5 separate regions of the Homo sapiens genome follow, and regions 1, 2, 3 and 5 are each linked to region 4. Evidence: promoter capture Hi-C in 16 types of primary human blood cells and fetal thymus (Javierre and others, 2016). All regions are on one chromosome and are shown on one strand. The core of a region is centred on a gene start or on the middle of the fragment in contact, and the rest is flanking DNA. Distances in the headings are between cores, read along the strand shown. Region 1 holds the start of NPHS1 (NPHS1 adhesion molecule, nephrin). Region 2 holds the start of UPK1A-AS1 (UPK1A antisense RNA 1). Region 3 holds the start of SDHAF1 (succinate dehydrogenase complex assembly factor 1). Region 4 holds the start of FXYD1 (FXYD domain containing ion transport regulator 1). Region 5 holds the start of LRFN3 (leucine rich repeat and fibronectin type III domain containing 3).

Evidence for each region. The method cuts DNA at HindIII sites, captures the fragments that hold promoters and counts their contacts. A CHiCAGO score of 5 or more calls a contact.
Region 1: a contact is called between the fragment with the promoter of NPHS1 here and the fragment with the promoter of FXYD1 in region 4, in 2 of 17 cell types (activated CD4 T cells and monocytes). The highest score is 6.3, in activated CD4 T cells.
Region 2: a contact is called between the fragment with the promoter of UPK1A-AS1 here and the fragment with the promoter of FXYD1 in region 4, in 2 of 17 cell types (neutrophils and erythroblasts). The highest score is 9.8, in neutrophils.
Region 3: a contact is called between the fragment with the promoter of SDHAF1 here and the fragment with the promoter of FXYD1 in region 4, in 9 of 17 cell types (neutrophils, activated CD4 T cells, total B cells and 6 more). The highest score is 14.9, in neutrophils.
Region 5: the fragment with the promoter of LRFN3 here is called in contact with the fragment with the promoter of FXYD1 in region 4 in 3 of 17 cell types (neutrophils, erythroblasts and monocytes); the score reaches 6.9 in neutrophils.

Annotation. Positions count from the first base shown.
Region 1 is chr19:35,851,254-35,853,953 of GRCh38, reverse strand. It overlaps NPHS1 (NPHS1 adhesion molecule, nephrin), which reads left to right and starts at 1,450. Exons shown (of 29, transcript NM_004646.4): 1 at 1,450-2,174; 2 at 2,282-2,497; 3 at 2,570-2,692. The coding sequence starts at 2,117. It also overlaps a transcript of KIRREL2 not described here. RefSeq lists enhancers at 1,522-2,163, 2,164-2,700. The HindIII fragment of the contact is 3,857 bases long and covers 1-2,700 here.
Region 2 is chr19:35,671,984-35,674,683 of GRCh38, reverse strand. UPK1A-AS1 (UPK1A antisense RNA 1) reads left to right here and starts at 1,393. Exons shown (of 2, transcript NR_046420.1): 1 at 1,393-1,449. UPK1A (uroplakin 1A) reads right to left here. Exons shown (of 8, transcript NM_007000.4): 4 at 1,378-1,452; 5 at 1,139-1,246. The HindIII fragment of the contact is 2,419 bases long and covers 131-2,549 here.
Region 3 is chr19:35,993,760-35,996,459 of GRCh38, reverse strand. It overlaps SDHAF1 (succinate dehydrogenase complex assembly factor 1), which reads right to left and starts at 1,272. Exons shown (of 1, transcript NM_001042631.3): 1 at 148-1,272. The coding sequence starts at 1,185. The coding sequence ends at 838. RefSeq lists silencers at 816-935, 966-1,025 and enhancers at 1,086-1,165, 1,426-1,475, 1,810-2,309. The HindIII fragment of the contact is 4,511 bases long and covers 127-2,700 here.
Region 4 is chr19:35,137,460-35,140,159 of GRCh38, reverse strand. It overlaps FXYD1 (FXYD domain containing ion transport regulator 1), which reads right to left and starts at 1,336. Exons shown (of 8, transcript NM_021902.4): 1 at 1,266-1,336; 2 at 20-84. The coding sequence starts at 80. The HindIII fragment of the contact is 25,239 bases long and covers 1-2,605 here.
Region 5 is chr19:35,934,924-35,937,623 of GRCh38, reverse strand. LRFN3 (leucine rich repeat and fibronectin type III domain containing 3) reads right to left here and starts at 1,250. Exons shown (of 3, transcript NM_024509.2): 1 at 69-1,250. The HindIII fragment of the contact is 21,793 bases long and covers 1-2,700 here.

The DNA.
Region 1 (2,700 bases), core at 201-2,700, 710 kb before region 4:
AGAATCGCTTGGACCTGGGAGGCGGAGGTTACAGTGAGCCAACATCGCACCATTGCACTCCAGCCTGGGTGACAGAGCAAGACTCCCTCTCAAAAAAAAAAAAAAAAAAAAAAAAATAGCCAGAGTGGTGATGCGGGCCTGTAGTCCCAGCTACTCAGGAGGCTGAGGCAGAAAGAACACTTGAGCCTAGGAGGTTTGAGGCTTCAATGAGCCATGATCACACCACTGCACTCCAGCCTGGGCAATAGAGAAAGACCCTGTCTCTACAAACAAATTTTAAAAAATTAGCTGGAGTGGTGGTGTGCACCTGTAGTCCCAGCTATTCAGGAGGCTGAGGCAGGAGGATCACCTGAGCCCAGGAAGTTGAGGCTGCAATGAACCAAGATCATGCCACTGCCCTCCAGCCTGGGCAACAGAGCAAGATTCCATCTCAAAAGAAAGAAAGATAAATCAAGATAGATAGAGGGAGGGAGAGAGAGAGACATGGAGAAGGAAAGAAGAGATGGGAGAGAGGGCAAGAAAAAGAGGGAGAAGAAAGCTCATGCAGTCCTTGCCAAAGGGCGCCCACTTTGGGCTCACACTGCACCCACACTGGGGGCCGGTGGAATTGGACTCTGCCTTTTACTCCCGCCCACACCCTGTGCACTCCCACGTAAGACACTGTCACACACACGCTCTCCACATGCTTATTACAGATCGCAGTTCACTCTAACCTTCCCCACTCTCACACCCACGTACACACATGCATATCTTCCCTCTCTCCCACACTCTCCCAGCCTGTCACACTCACTCTTGCATCCTCCCCAGCAGAGATCCCTGACATCATTTAGGCACTGATGTCTACTAAAAAAGGAAGGGAGGCCAGGTGCGGTGGCTCATGTCTGTAATCCCAGCATTTTGGGAGGCTGAGGCAGATGGATCACCTGAGGTCAGGAGTTCGAGACCAGCGTGGCCAACATGATGAAACCCCGTCTCTAGTAAAAATACAAAAATTAGCCAGGCATGGTGCTATATACCTGTAGCACCAGCTACTTGGGAGACAGAGGTGGGAGAATTACTTGAACCTGGGAGGTTCAAGCCATGGGAGGTGGAAGTTGCAGTGAGCCGAGATGCCACTGCACTCCAGCCTGAGCAACAGAGCAAGACTATCTCAAGAAAAGAAAGAAAGAAAGAAAGAGACTTGCCAAGGTCATGTATCAGGGCAAGGAAGAGCTGGGGGCCCAGCTGGCTGCTCCCCTGCTGAGCTGGGAGACCACCTTGATCTGACTTCTCCCATCTTCCCAGCCTAAGCCAGGCCCTGGGGTCACGGAGGCTGGGGAGGCACCGAGGAACGCGCCTGGCATGTGCTGACAGGGGATTTTATGCTCCAGCTGGGCCAGCTGGGAGGAGCCTGCTGGGCAGAGGCCAGAGCTGGGGGCTCTGGAAGGTACCTGGGGGAGGTTGCACTGTGAGAATGAGCTCAAGCTGGGTCAGAGAGCAGGGCTGACTCTGCCAGTGCCTGCATCAGCCTCATCGCTCTCCTAGGCTCCTGGCCTGCTGGACTCTGGGCTGCAGGTCCTTCTTGAAAGGCTGTGAGTAGTGAGACAAGGAGCAGGAGTGAGGGGTGGCAGGAGAGAAGATAGAGATTGAGAGAGAGAGAGAGAGAGAGACAGAGAGAGAGGAAGAGACAGAGACAAAAGGAGAGAGAACGGCTTAGACAAGGAGAGAAAGATGGAAAGATAAAGAGACTGGGCGCAGTGGCTCACGCCTGTAATCCCAACACTTGGGGAGGCCAAGGTGGGAGGATGGCTTGAAGGAAAGAGTCTGAGATCAACCTGGCCAACATAGTGAGACCCCGTCTCTAAAAAAAAAAAAAAGAAAAAAAAAAGAAAAAAGAAAAAAAAGTTTTTTTAAAGAGACAGAGAAAGAGACTCAGAGATTGAGACTGAGAGCAAGACAGAGAGAGATACTCACAGGGAAGAGGGGAAGAGGAAAACGAGAAAGGGAGGAGAGTAACGGAAAGAGATAAAAAAGAAAAGCAGGTGGCAGAGACACACAGAGAGGGACCCAGAGAAAGCCAGACAGACGCAGGTGGCTGGCAGCGGGCGCTGTGGGGGTCACAGTAGGGGGACCTGTGATGGCCCTGGGGACGACGCTCAGGGCTTCTCTCCTGCTCCTGGGGCTGCTGACTGAAGGTGAGTGGGATCCCAGCCTTGTACCCAGCGCCAAGTGGCCCCCATTTCCCACTTACCTTCCCTAGACAAACCCTCTGCCCTTTCCTTGCACCGCGCTGTGTCCTCAGGCCTGGCGCAGTTGGCGATTCCTGCCTCCGTTCCCCGGGGCTTCTGGGCCCTGCCTGAAAACCTGACGGTGGTGGAGGGGGCCTCAGTGGAGCTGCGTTGTGGGGTCAGCACCCCTGGCAGTGCGGTGCAATGGGCCAAAGATGGGCTGCTCCTGGGCCCCGACCCCAGGATCCCAGGCTTCCCGAGGTACCGCCTGGAAGGGGACCCTGCTAGAGGTAAGGGATCAGAGCCTGAGACCCTCAGCCACCAGCGGAAGCTGCGGCCCTGACTTCCGGCTCCCCCTGCAGGTGAATTCCACCTGCACATCGAGGCCTGTGACCTCAGCGATGACGCGGAGTATGAGTGCCAGGTCGGCCGCTCTGAGATGGGGCCCGAGCTCGTGTCTCCCAGAGTGATCCTCTCCATCCTGGGTATGGGT
Region 2 (2,700 bases), core at 144-2,643, 530 kb before region 4:
TTGAATCCTTCCAGTTCTGTGACCTACCAGGTGTGTGACCTCATGCAAGATATTCAACCTCTTGCTTTGGTCTCCTCATCACTAAAAGGCCGATCTCCCTTATGGAGTGGTCGTGAGGATTAAAAAAGCTTTAAAAGTGCTTTGAAAGGCTGGGCACGGTGGCTCAAGCCTGTAATCCCAGCACTTTGGGAGGCCGAGGCAGGTGGATCACAAGGTCAGGAGATCAAGACCATCCTGGCTAACACCCATCTCTACTAAAAATACAAAAAATCAGCTGGGCGCGGTGGCAGGCGCCTGTAGTCCCAGCTATTCGGGAGGCTGAGGCAGGAGAATAGCGTGAACCCGGGAGGCGGAGCTTGCAGTGAGCCGAGATCGCGCCACTGCATTCCAGCCTGGGCGACAGAGCAAGACTCTGTCTCAAAAAAAAAAAAAAAAAAAAAAAGATAAAAAGAAAAAAAAAAATGTGCTTTGAGGCCAGGCACTCGTGGCTCATGCCTGTGATCTCGGCACTTTGAGAGGCGGAGGTGGGAGAATCGCTCCAATCCTGAGCCCAGGAGTTCCAGACCAGCCTGGGCAATAGAGCAAGACCCCCATCTCCACAAAAGATAATTTAAAAAACTTAGCCGGGTGTGGTGGGGCGCACCTGTATTCCCAGCTACTCGGGAAGCTGAGGCGGGAGGATCACTTGAGCCCAGGAGTTGGAGGTTGCAGTGAGCTATGATCACTCCAGCCTGGGCAACAGAGCAAGACCCCATCTCAAAATATAAAAATAAAAGTCCTTTGAACAGTGTGAAACCTAGCTCAGTGAATGGTGCTGTTACTATCATTGTTATTATCAACATTTCTGTTGAGGTAGTATGTGTAGGCTAAGAGCAGGGAGGTCAGGAGCTAGGCTGCCGGGTTCCAATCCCAGCTCCCACCACTTACCGACTGTGTGGCCTCGGGCAAGGGACTTTCCCTTTCTGGGCCTGTTTACTCATCCGCAGAACGGTGATGACCGCAGCCCTGCTCTCCTAGAGATCTCATGAGCGGATGTCTTTAAGGCACTCACTCCTCTAAAAGCTGGCACATCGGGAGCTCTATCGGCCTCTGTGGACGGAGCCCAGGGCCCTCCCAGCACCCGGTCCACCCCGCCCACCTCAATCATGACGCGGTCCCAGAGGCGGGTCAGCTCCTGGCCCTGGTCGGTGTCCGCGCTGTAGAAGGTCAGCATCTGCTTGGTGATCAGGGATGGGTTGGACACCATCTGAGGAGAACAGGGAAGAACAAGGGCCGGCAGGGCTGGGTGGGGAGAGAGGACGACCTCCGCCCCGCCGCGCCGGGACCCTCGCCCCTCCCATGCAGGTCAGGCCCCTCCCCAGGCCTCGCCGGGCTCACGTAGTCACGGTGGGTGTAGGACGTGATGCAGGAGGCGCACTCGAAGATGTAGACGATGAGCATGAGCACCAGGTACTGGGGAGACAGAGGGAGGACGGCCCGTCGGGCAGAGCCCGTGAAGCCACACCCCGTCAGGGAAGCATCACTGGGGAAATGCAAGTTTTAAAAAAGTTTGGGGCAGTGTGACTAGCAGCATCTATAATATGTGGTGGGTGTTCAGGTGTTCGCTGTATTGTCTTCCAACTTTTCTGTATTTTGAAATATTTAATTTAATTAATTTATTTTTGAGACAGGCGAGGCGTGGTGGCTCACGCCTATAATCCCAGCACTTTGGGAGGCCGAGGGGGCGATCACCTGAGTCAGGAGTTCGAGACCAGCCTGGCCAACATGGTGAAACCCCTTCTCTACTAAAAATACAAAAATTAGGGCTGGGCATTGGTGGCTCACACCTGTAATCCCAGCACTTTGGGAGGCTGAGATGGGAAGATTGCTTGAACCCTGGAGTTCAAGATCAGCCTGGGCAACACAGTGAGACCCCGTCGCTACAAAAAATAAAAATAAAAAAATTAGTTAAGCATAGTTACTACTAGTGGTAGTGTTAGTCCTAGCTATTTGGGAGGCTGAGGTTGGAGGATCGTTTGAGCCCAGTAGTTGGAGGCCTCAGCGAGCTATGATCGCACCACTGCATTCCTGCCTGGGCAACAGAGCAAAACCCTGTCTCTTAAAACAAAACAAACAAGGGTGGGTGCAGTGGCTTACGCCTGTAATCCCAACACTTTGGGAGGTTGAGACGGGTGGATCACCTGAGGTCAGGAGTTCAAGACCAGCCTGACCAATATGGTGAAACCCCATCTACTAAAAATGCAAAAATACAAAAATTAGCTGGGCATGGTGATGGGTGCCTGTAATCCCAGCTACTCAGGAGGATGAGATAGGAGAATAGCTTGAACCCAGGAGGCAGAGGTTGCAATGAGCCGAGATTGTGCCATTACACTCCAGCCTGGGCAACAGAGTGAGACCCTGTCTCTTAAAATAAAACAAACAACATAAAACGATGTTCTCAGATAATCAGAGACATTTGACACAGACTGGGTATTGGAAGATATAGAAGAACTTGATTGAATTTGGTGGGTTGTGCCAACGGCACAGAGGGCAGGAGAAAAAAAAAAGCTTGTCAGTTGATGTTTAATGCAAATTCTTTTCATGTCCTCACCTGGCACCTTCATCTATAAAGCAGCAGGAGGTTGCGTGTGGATGTGTGAACTCTGCTGCTGGGAGATGGATGACATTGCACAACCTCCTGACTGCTTTAAAACAATGTGC
Region 3 (2,700 bases), core at 23-2,522, 860 kb before region 4:
TCCGGAAGGAGTCAGATCCCCACACCTATCACCTCCCAGATGGTCCCTTCCAGGTGTCTGTGTGCGTGTGTGTGTGGTGGCAGGGGGGCTGGGGGTGTTTCAAAAATCCTGAAATATATAAAAGCTTTAAGACCACCAACAGGGAAGTAGACATATCCCCAATTTTATTCCCTTTGTCCAACATTCCGAGAGGGAAGGGGCAAATGAGTCAATGTTGCCCCTCAAAACCATCAAGTAGGGGCCTTTGGGGGTCTTCAGTTGATCAACCAGGGTGATAGACCCCTACCCCTTCCTCATGGTCCTGGCTTGTCACAATTAATGGGGGAAAGTTTTCCAGAAGGGGATTCCGGGCTTCTCACCGCTCATCAGGGCACCTTCCCAAAACGTTCTCAGCAAAAAGTCTGCACTTCTCAGAGTTAAATACAGGAGAGGGGAGACTCCTTGAGGAGCCAGAAGTGGGTATGTTCTCAGGGGTCAAGAGAAGGGCGTCTCAGGCTCTCCCTGTCCACCGGGGGTCGTCCTGGCTCCCCGTACCTTCGGGCAAGTAGCTCTTGGCTTGACACTGTCCAGCCCGCCAGCGTCCCAGGCCGCCCCAAGCCCTCATGGGGGAGGAGCACCGACCTGTCTCCAAGCATCGGAAAAGGCGGGCCTCCCTTGCCGTCCATCACGGGGCTCTCTAGGCCCCCTGCGTCGCCAAGGAGGAGTCTCTGACATCCCCAATTCGTCAAGCTAGTCTCTTAAGACCTCTCACCTTAGGCGGGTTCCCCAGTCCCCCCATGCAGTCAGGCGAGCCTCCTGGCTCCACCACGCCATCGAGCGAGTTCGGCTCTTCGCCTGTCACCGTCCGTCGGGGCGGGTCTCCGGTGCCCCCGTGCTGTCGTGGGGGTTCCTTGGACTGTCGCCGTCGTCAGGCTGGCAACCCACGCCGCCAGGCTCCCCGGTCGGGGCCCGCGGGCGTACGAAGGCGCCCATGGCGGTGGCGTGGCCCGAGCGTAGCAGCTGCAGCTGGCGCCGCCCGCGGCGGTACAGGTACTCGATGCGCAGCACGTCGGACCGCGGCAGGCCCGCATGCTGCCGGAACTCTGCCCGCACTCGCGCCTCGGCGCCCGGCTTCCCACGCCCGGCGCGCAGCAGATCGCGGTACAGGCTCAGAACCTGCCTCTGCAGCCGGCTGTGCCGGCTCATGACCGCGGCTAAGCAGAGACGCTCAGCGAACGACCTGCGAACCGCGGAGCCGCCACACAGCCAGCAAAGGCCAAAGGGCAAAGCCACAGCCACTTCCGCCCAGCGCTTCCCTTGGCCTCCAACTCCCGCCTCCCGCCATCCGGCGCTGCCGCGTCTGACTGGCTGTCGTTGCAGTTACGTAACAGCCGGCTGGGAGAAGTGGGCGGAGTCGCTGGTCGCGGCCTCCCACGTAGGGGACGTGTGTTCTTGAGGGGACAGCAGTTCTGGGGATCCTGGCACCGCCTGGAGGGCGTTATGTGTTCGGACTCCTAGGTCTTGGGTTGGAGGGAACAGAGGGTCCTCACCTAACTCCTGCATTCTGGGAGAAGAGGAAGCTAGGGGTTTTTTTGTGTGTGACGGGGTCTCGCTGTCGCCCAGGCTGGAGTGCAGTGGCGCGATCTTGGCTCACTGCAGCCTCGAACTCCTGGGCCCAAGCGATCCTCCCACCTCAACTCCCCTAGTAGCTGGAACCACAGACGCGCGCAACCGCGCCCGCTATTTATTTATTTATTTATTTATTTATTTATTTATTTATTATTATTATTATTTGCAGAGATGGGTCTCCCTATGTTGCCCAGAATGGCTCGAACTCCTGGGCTCAAACGATTCTCAGCCTCCCAAAGTGTTGGGATTCCAGGCGTGAGCCACCGCGCCCGGCTACCGGTTCGGACTTTGGGTCCCAAGGGCACGGGGCACTGGGAGAGACGCCGGGCACAAGCGTGCTTTTGCCGTCAGTTACTGATTCAAACCATCTTGGGAAGCTCCGTGCGTTCCCTCGTCCGGGGCAGGTCTGTGTCTGGGGTCCCAGCCCTGGGCACGTGCAGAGGGACGAGACCCCGTAGGGAAATGGCTCTCGGCCGGTTGGACAGGCTTCTCGGGCCAGGGGAAGACAAGCAGAGAGAGTGTGGGCGCCAAGCCCCCAGAGGCAGCGTGTGGCTCTAGGAGCTGGGTTGGTCGCGCCCTCTGCGGGTGGGAGTCGGGGCAGTGGACAGCGGTGTTTGGGTCCTTACCGACTGTTAAAGCCCGGAGTCCGGGACACCCTGAACAGTCGACTAGACTGCAACCCCGTTGTCCTCCCAGGAGCTTTAGGTGGTAGGCCGCAATGCCGTTGTTGTCCCCGCGGGCCGCCTGGAGGTGTCCTCGTAGCGCTAGGGAGGCCCGCAAGGACACAGCATCCTCGGGCCCCACCAGCACCGGAGCTTGGGGGACCCCTCCACCCAGCGCGCAACCGCGGCTCTGCACACTTGGGCCGGCAACCAGCTGGGGGGTCCATTCCCCTTCAGAGAGGAGAAGCTGGTCAGGGGCGGGGATTAGGCTTGGAGTCTTGGAGTCAGGGGAGAATCACAAACCACTGTGAATCCTGCCTGGCAGGTGTATGTATCTATCAAAAATACATGTCCTAGAACGGTGGCTCACACCTGTAATTCCAGCACTTTTGGAGGCCGAGGCGGGCGGACCACCTGAGGTCGGGAGATC
Region 4 (2,700 bases), core at 87-2,586:
CAGCCTCCCCTGCACTCACCTGCCTTGGCCATGGTGAGGAGACCCACACAGAAAACCAAGATGTGGCCAAGAGACGCCATTGTCCTGGGGGGGACACCACGGATTAGGCAGTGTGTGCCCTTGCTCTCCCACATAGGGCTTGAACCCAAGGGATTAAGTCAGAGACAGTCTGGGGACTGAATCACAGAAGTGTTTGTCCTCTATCTTGGTGGCTCCAAGCTAGAGAAACGGGTATCCCCAGCTTCGTGGGGACACAGTGTCACCAAAACAACCTCCACGATGGGATCACACAACAACACAACGTAGCAGGGACGGGGGTGAGACACACAGTCCCCGGGGGGCCTCCCTTGGGCCTCCACCTCCCGCAGCAGGCCCCCGATTCCCAGACCTACCCTGGCAGGGCAGAGGAGGCGCTGCCTCACACAAACACAGAGCAGGAGACAGCAGGGCACGCCCAAGTCCCACCTGCCTACATGCCCGGCCTCACTGTGCCCCGCGAAATCCCAGCTCCCTGCCCTCTCCGCCCGCCCGCTCGCGGCCTGACCCCGGGTATAAATATCTCCCACTTCACCCTGGAGGAATTCTGCTCGCTCAGGCCACCATGGCAACAGCCTGCCTTCCCCCACTCAGGGGGTCACGCACAGCCCTGCCGGGGTGAGGCCCAGCTGCCACATCGCCACAGGCTGCCCCTGTGGGAAAGGTCACCCCGTCTCCTCCCTGGGCAGCAACGAGAAAAGGAAAAGACAGCCCCTCTGCCCGCCTCTGGGTGACATCTTTCACAATCGGATGTCAGGCAAGTGACATGAGGCCCAGCCCAGTGGGCCTTAGAGATAGAAAACACATGCTGGGGCAGGGATACACACACACACACACACACACACACACACACACACACACAGTGGGGCCGGAATGGACATGAACAACAACCTCTCCCCAAACTGCTGGTTGGAGCAGGACGTGGGGTGTAAACACCGTCAGGCATCCAATACTCCTCCTCTGGGCCTCCGGTGCCCCCACGCAGTGACGCAACCAGCCCTACACACGTGTGTGTCCCAACTCCACACCCTGCCAGGGTGCACACGCACCAGCAGGGCAGGGAGGAGTCACCCACATCCCACCCTGCAGAACCCACTGCCTCAACCACACTCCCTCCCTCTTGGGTTGGCCTGCCTGGGAAGCCTCGGGCTGGCCACTCCTGCTCCCAAAATAGGCGGCCCAGCCAGACCAGGGGTGAGGCCTGGAGGGAAGGAGTGGGGGACGCTCACCCCAATCGGGCTGTCCCCTGCTGAAAGAAGGCCCCCAAACGTCCTGCTGTGCCCCGGGGGCTGAGCACTTTGGACCCCCTGGCCCAGAGCTGGACGCGCCGCCCCCAGCAGCCTCCCCTCCCAGCCCCACCCCACCCATGCCCTCCCCAACCAGCAGCTGAAACTGGAGCTGGGGCTGGAGGGGGGCCAGGGGGCGGCCCCCAGCCCAGACTGCCCTGGCCCGCTTGGTTAACTCTCTCAGTTCAGAGAGAGCAGCAGCAGGCAGCCAGCAGGCAGGCTGGAGAGGCTAGGAGGATTGTGGAGGACAGGGTTGTGAACACACACACACACAAACACACACGCCTCCAAGAGCTTTTGGGCTGAGGCGGCTGCCCCCTGGGAACTGGGTCCAGCCAGGGCCGAAGGTCACCCAGCCTGACTGCCCAGGAGCCCACTGACCCCCGATCCCAGTGCTCCGTGAGGTCCTTAACAGGGCTGTTTTAGAGGACGGGAGGGAGGTGTGTGTGTGTGTGTGTGTGTGCGCGCGCATGTGCGCTATCTGCTGTGGTGAGATCCCCAGAAATGCACCACACACACACACCCACACACAATCCCAAAGACCCAGATATACAGGTACAAAACCAGACAAAACCATGTATGTATGTACATCCATAGAAGCAGACACACACAGAATGACACACTGATAGAGAAACCCAAAGACCCGGACACACAGCCAACACCTTTTATGCCAGTCACAAAATACCAGAACAAGCACATTTATGTCTACACAGACCCACGCACGCTCATGTAGATGGATGGCCACACAGAGATACAGTCAAAGACATAGCCACATCACCATCTACACTCACAAACTGGCCACAAAAATGCATGTTTATGTGAAGACCCACCCACAAATGGCCATACAGAAACACACAAGTATGTGCACACCGCACATAAATGCATTCTAAGATGCATGGCCAAACATGGCCAGGTACGGTGGCTCACACCTGTACTCCCAGCACTTTGGGAGGCCAAGGCGGGAGGATCACTTGAGGCCAGGAGTTCAACACCAGCCTGGCCAACCCGACGAGAGCTCGTCTCTACTAAAAAAATATACAAAAATTAGCTGGGTGTGGTGGCGTGCGCCTGTAATCACGGCTACTCCGGAGGCTGAGGCAGGAGAGTCACTTGAGCCCGGGAGGCAGAGCTTGCAGTGAGCTGAGATCATGCCACTGCACTCTAGCCTGGGCAACAGAGCGAGACTCTGTCTCAAAAACAAAAACAAAACAAAAAAACCCCAAAGGTACAGACATGCAGCCAGCACTCCTACATGGTCCCAAAGATAGGAAGGCCAACAAGCTTGTGTACACACAGACAGATTTCCATGGGCACAGATACACAAGCAGAAACACCATCAAGGACAACCCGCCGCTCTCACACATACCCACAAAAGCAG
Region 5 (2,700 bases), core at 1-2,500, 800 kb before region 4:
GGTACCGTAACCCGCAGCCACAATGCTCCTCCCAGCCCGTCCCCACCTTGAGGTTTCAGCAGCCTTACCTGAGCTAGAAGCAGCCCCAGGGAGCAGAGTCCTAGCTCCAGGGGAGTCAGAGGTCAGGGCTCTGGAGGGAGCATCTGGTCATGCTTTTCCTGTCCCCAAGGCTTCTGTAGAGGGACTGTGTCCTGACTCGGCTCAAATCTGTGGCAACGGAGTCTCCAGACCTTAATACTCGGGGTTCCAGACCCCTAAATATTGGGCCTCTAGGGTCCAGTTTTACGGGTCCAGTTTGGGTTGTTCAGGGTCAGGGTCTCCCAGGTCCAGTCTTGGGATGCTAAGCAGCCAAACGGTGGGGTTTAGAGTCTGAGATCCGATCCCGGGGTTCTGCATTCAGATATTGGGGTGCTGAGTCAAGATTGGGAGGTCTCAAGCCCCAGATTTAAGCACTCAGGTCTGCAGCAAGGACTTCAGGCCCAAACTCGGGTTCAGGCCCCTTGGAATCCCACAGTCCAGATCTTGGAATTTGAGGCCTGAATCCCAGGGTTCAGGTCCCCAAGAGTGGGTTCCAGGGTACAGTACTGGAAATCCAGTCCCAGATTTCAAGGTCCCAGGCCCAGAATTCAGAGTTCAGCTCCAGGCTTGAGGTTTTAGATGTCAAATCTTGGGGTTCTGCTCCAAATATTGGGGTCTGTGTTCCAAATTGTGGGGTTCCGGCTCCAAATATTGAGGTCCCAGTGACCGATGTTGAGATTCCAGCCCCATATACTGGGGTTCAGGCTCCAGATCTTGGGGTTCCACGGCCGGATCTCGGGGTGCTGGTCCCAGATCAGGGTTCCAGGCTCGGGTTTCCGGAATTCCCGATTCAATCTGGGGGTGCAGGCCCCCGAGGTGGAGGTTAGGGCGCGGGGTCCGGGGCGGCGGCGTCCCGGCTGGCTTCCTGGGCTGCGGCGGAGGCTGACTGGGAGGGAGGGGACCGGCTGCGGTGGGGAGGGGGGCGACCGGGCAGCCCCAGGGCCGGGTGGGGCGAGGCCTGGGAGCGGAGGGACGGTCAGACAGACTGGGACACGCGGGATGGGGGCACCGCAGCGCAGGCGGGGGCGCAGGGGGGAGGGGCCGCGCTCAGAGACCCCTCCCCCGCCGGGGCCGAGGCGGGGGCCGGGCGGGGGCCGGGCTGGGCGGGCCGGGTCCAGGCGCTCCCGCGGCCTCCTCGCCGGCAACCCAGGGCAGCGCGCGCACCGGCGCTTAAAGGCGCAGGCTCCGCGCGCACCCGCGCTTAAAGGCGTAGGCACCCGCCCCTTCTCTCAAAGACGCGCCCCGGCCCCACCTCCCATGGAGTCGCACTGGCGCTGCTGGGAAAGAGAATCCCTGGATACAGAGAGACTGAGACAGAGAGACAGAGAAGAACGGAGATACAGAAAGGCAGACAAAAAGATGGGCAGGCTTAGATTGATGGATAGAGAGGAGAAAATGGAAAGAGGCAGAGAGACAGATTGAAACACACACATATTCGAGACATGGAAATGCACAGAGACAGCGAGACACAGAGAGTGATGGAGAGACAAGAGATAAGGACAAGTCAGAGAAAGACAGAAACAGAGATAGAGACGTGCGTGCGCGCGCACACACAGACACACACATACACACTCACACGCTCTAAGACGCAGCACCTGGGCTGTGAGAATGGTATGTGTGTATGTGCATTCAGTAACTATTCCTAGCCTTGAGTGTAGCGCTTCATTCCAGAGCCACTGGCCCCCCAAACCTGTCTCTTTCTGCCCCCCTTATCTCAGCACCACCTCCCTGGAATGTCCTTTCCACGGTTGGAGTTTCCTTACCTGGCCATGCCCAGCAATAGGCTTGATCTTTCAGGCCAGAGGGGCTCCTTCCCAAGGCTCCTTTCTCTGCCTGCAAGAGGGAAAACTTGTGCCATCTGGGATTAGGGAAAGACCTCAAGACACACTGACAGCCGGGGGCGGTGGCTCACGCCTGTAATCCCGGCTCGTTGGGAGGCCAAGGCGGGCGGATCTTTTGAGATCAGGCGTTGGAGACCAGCCTGGCCAACATGGAGAAACCCCGTCTCTACTAAAAATACAAAAATTAGCCGGGTGTGGTGGCGGACGCCCGTAATCCCAGCTACTCGGGAGGCTGAGGCAAGAGAATTGCTTGAACCCGGGAGGTGGAGATTGTAGTGATCTGAGATCCAGCCATTGCACTCCAGCCTGGGTGACAGAGTGAGACTCTGTCTTTAAAAGAAAGAAAGAAAGAAAGAAAAGCAGAGAGGGATGCCTTGCCTTGCAGGAGCCAGGCCAGGTGTCCTTGCAGTGCAGCCCACCAGGATCACCCGGGGGCACCATAGATCTCCAGGTCCCAACCTCAGAGTTTCTGGTTCAGTGGGTCTGAGGTGGGACCCAAACATTTGCATTTTTAACGAGTACCCAGGTGATGCTAATGTGACTTTTCAAAGACCATACTTTTTTTTTTGAGACAGGGTCTTGCTTTGTCACCCAGTACATTGGTGCAATCATAATTGACTGCAACCTCAAATTCCTGGGCTCAAGCAATCCTCCCACCTCAGGCTCCAGAGTAACTGAGACTACAGGCATGCATCGCCATATCCAGCTAATTTTTAAAATTTCTTGTAGAGACAGGGTCTCAATATGCTGCCCAGGCTGGTCTTGAACTCTTGGCCTCAGG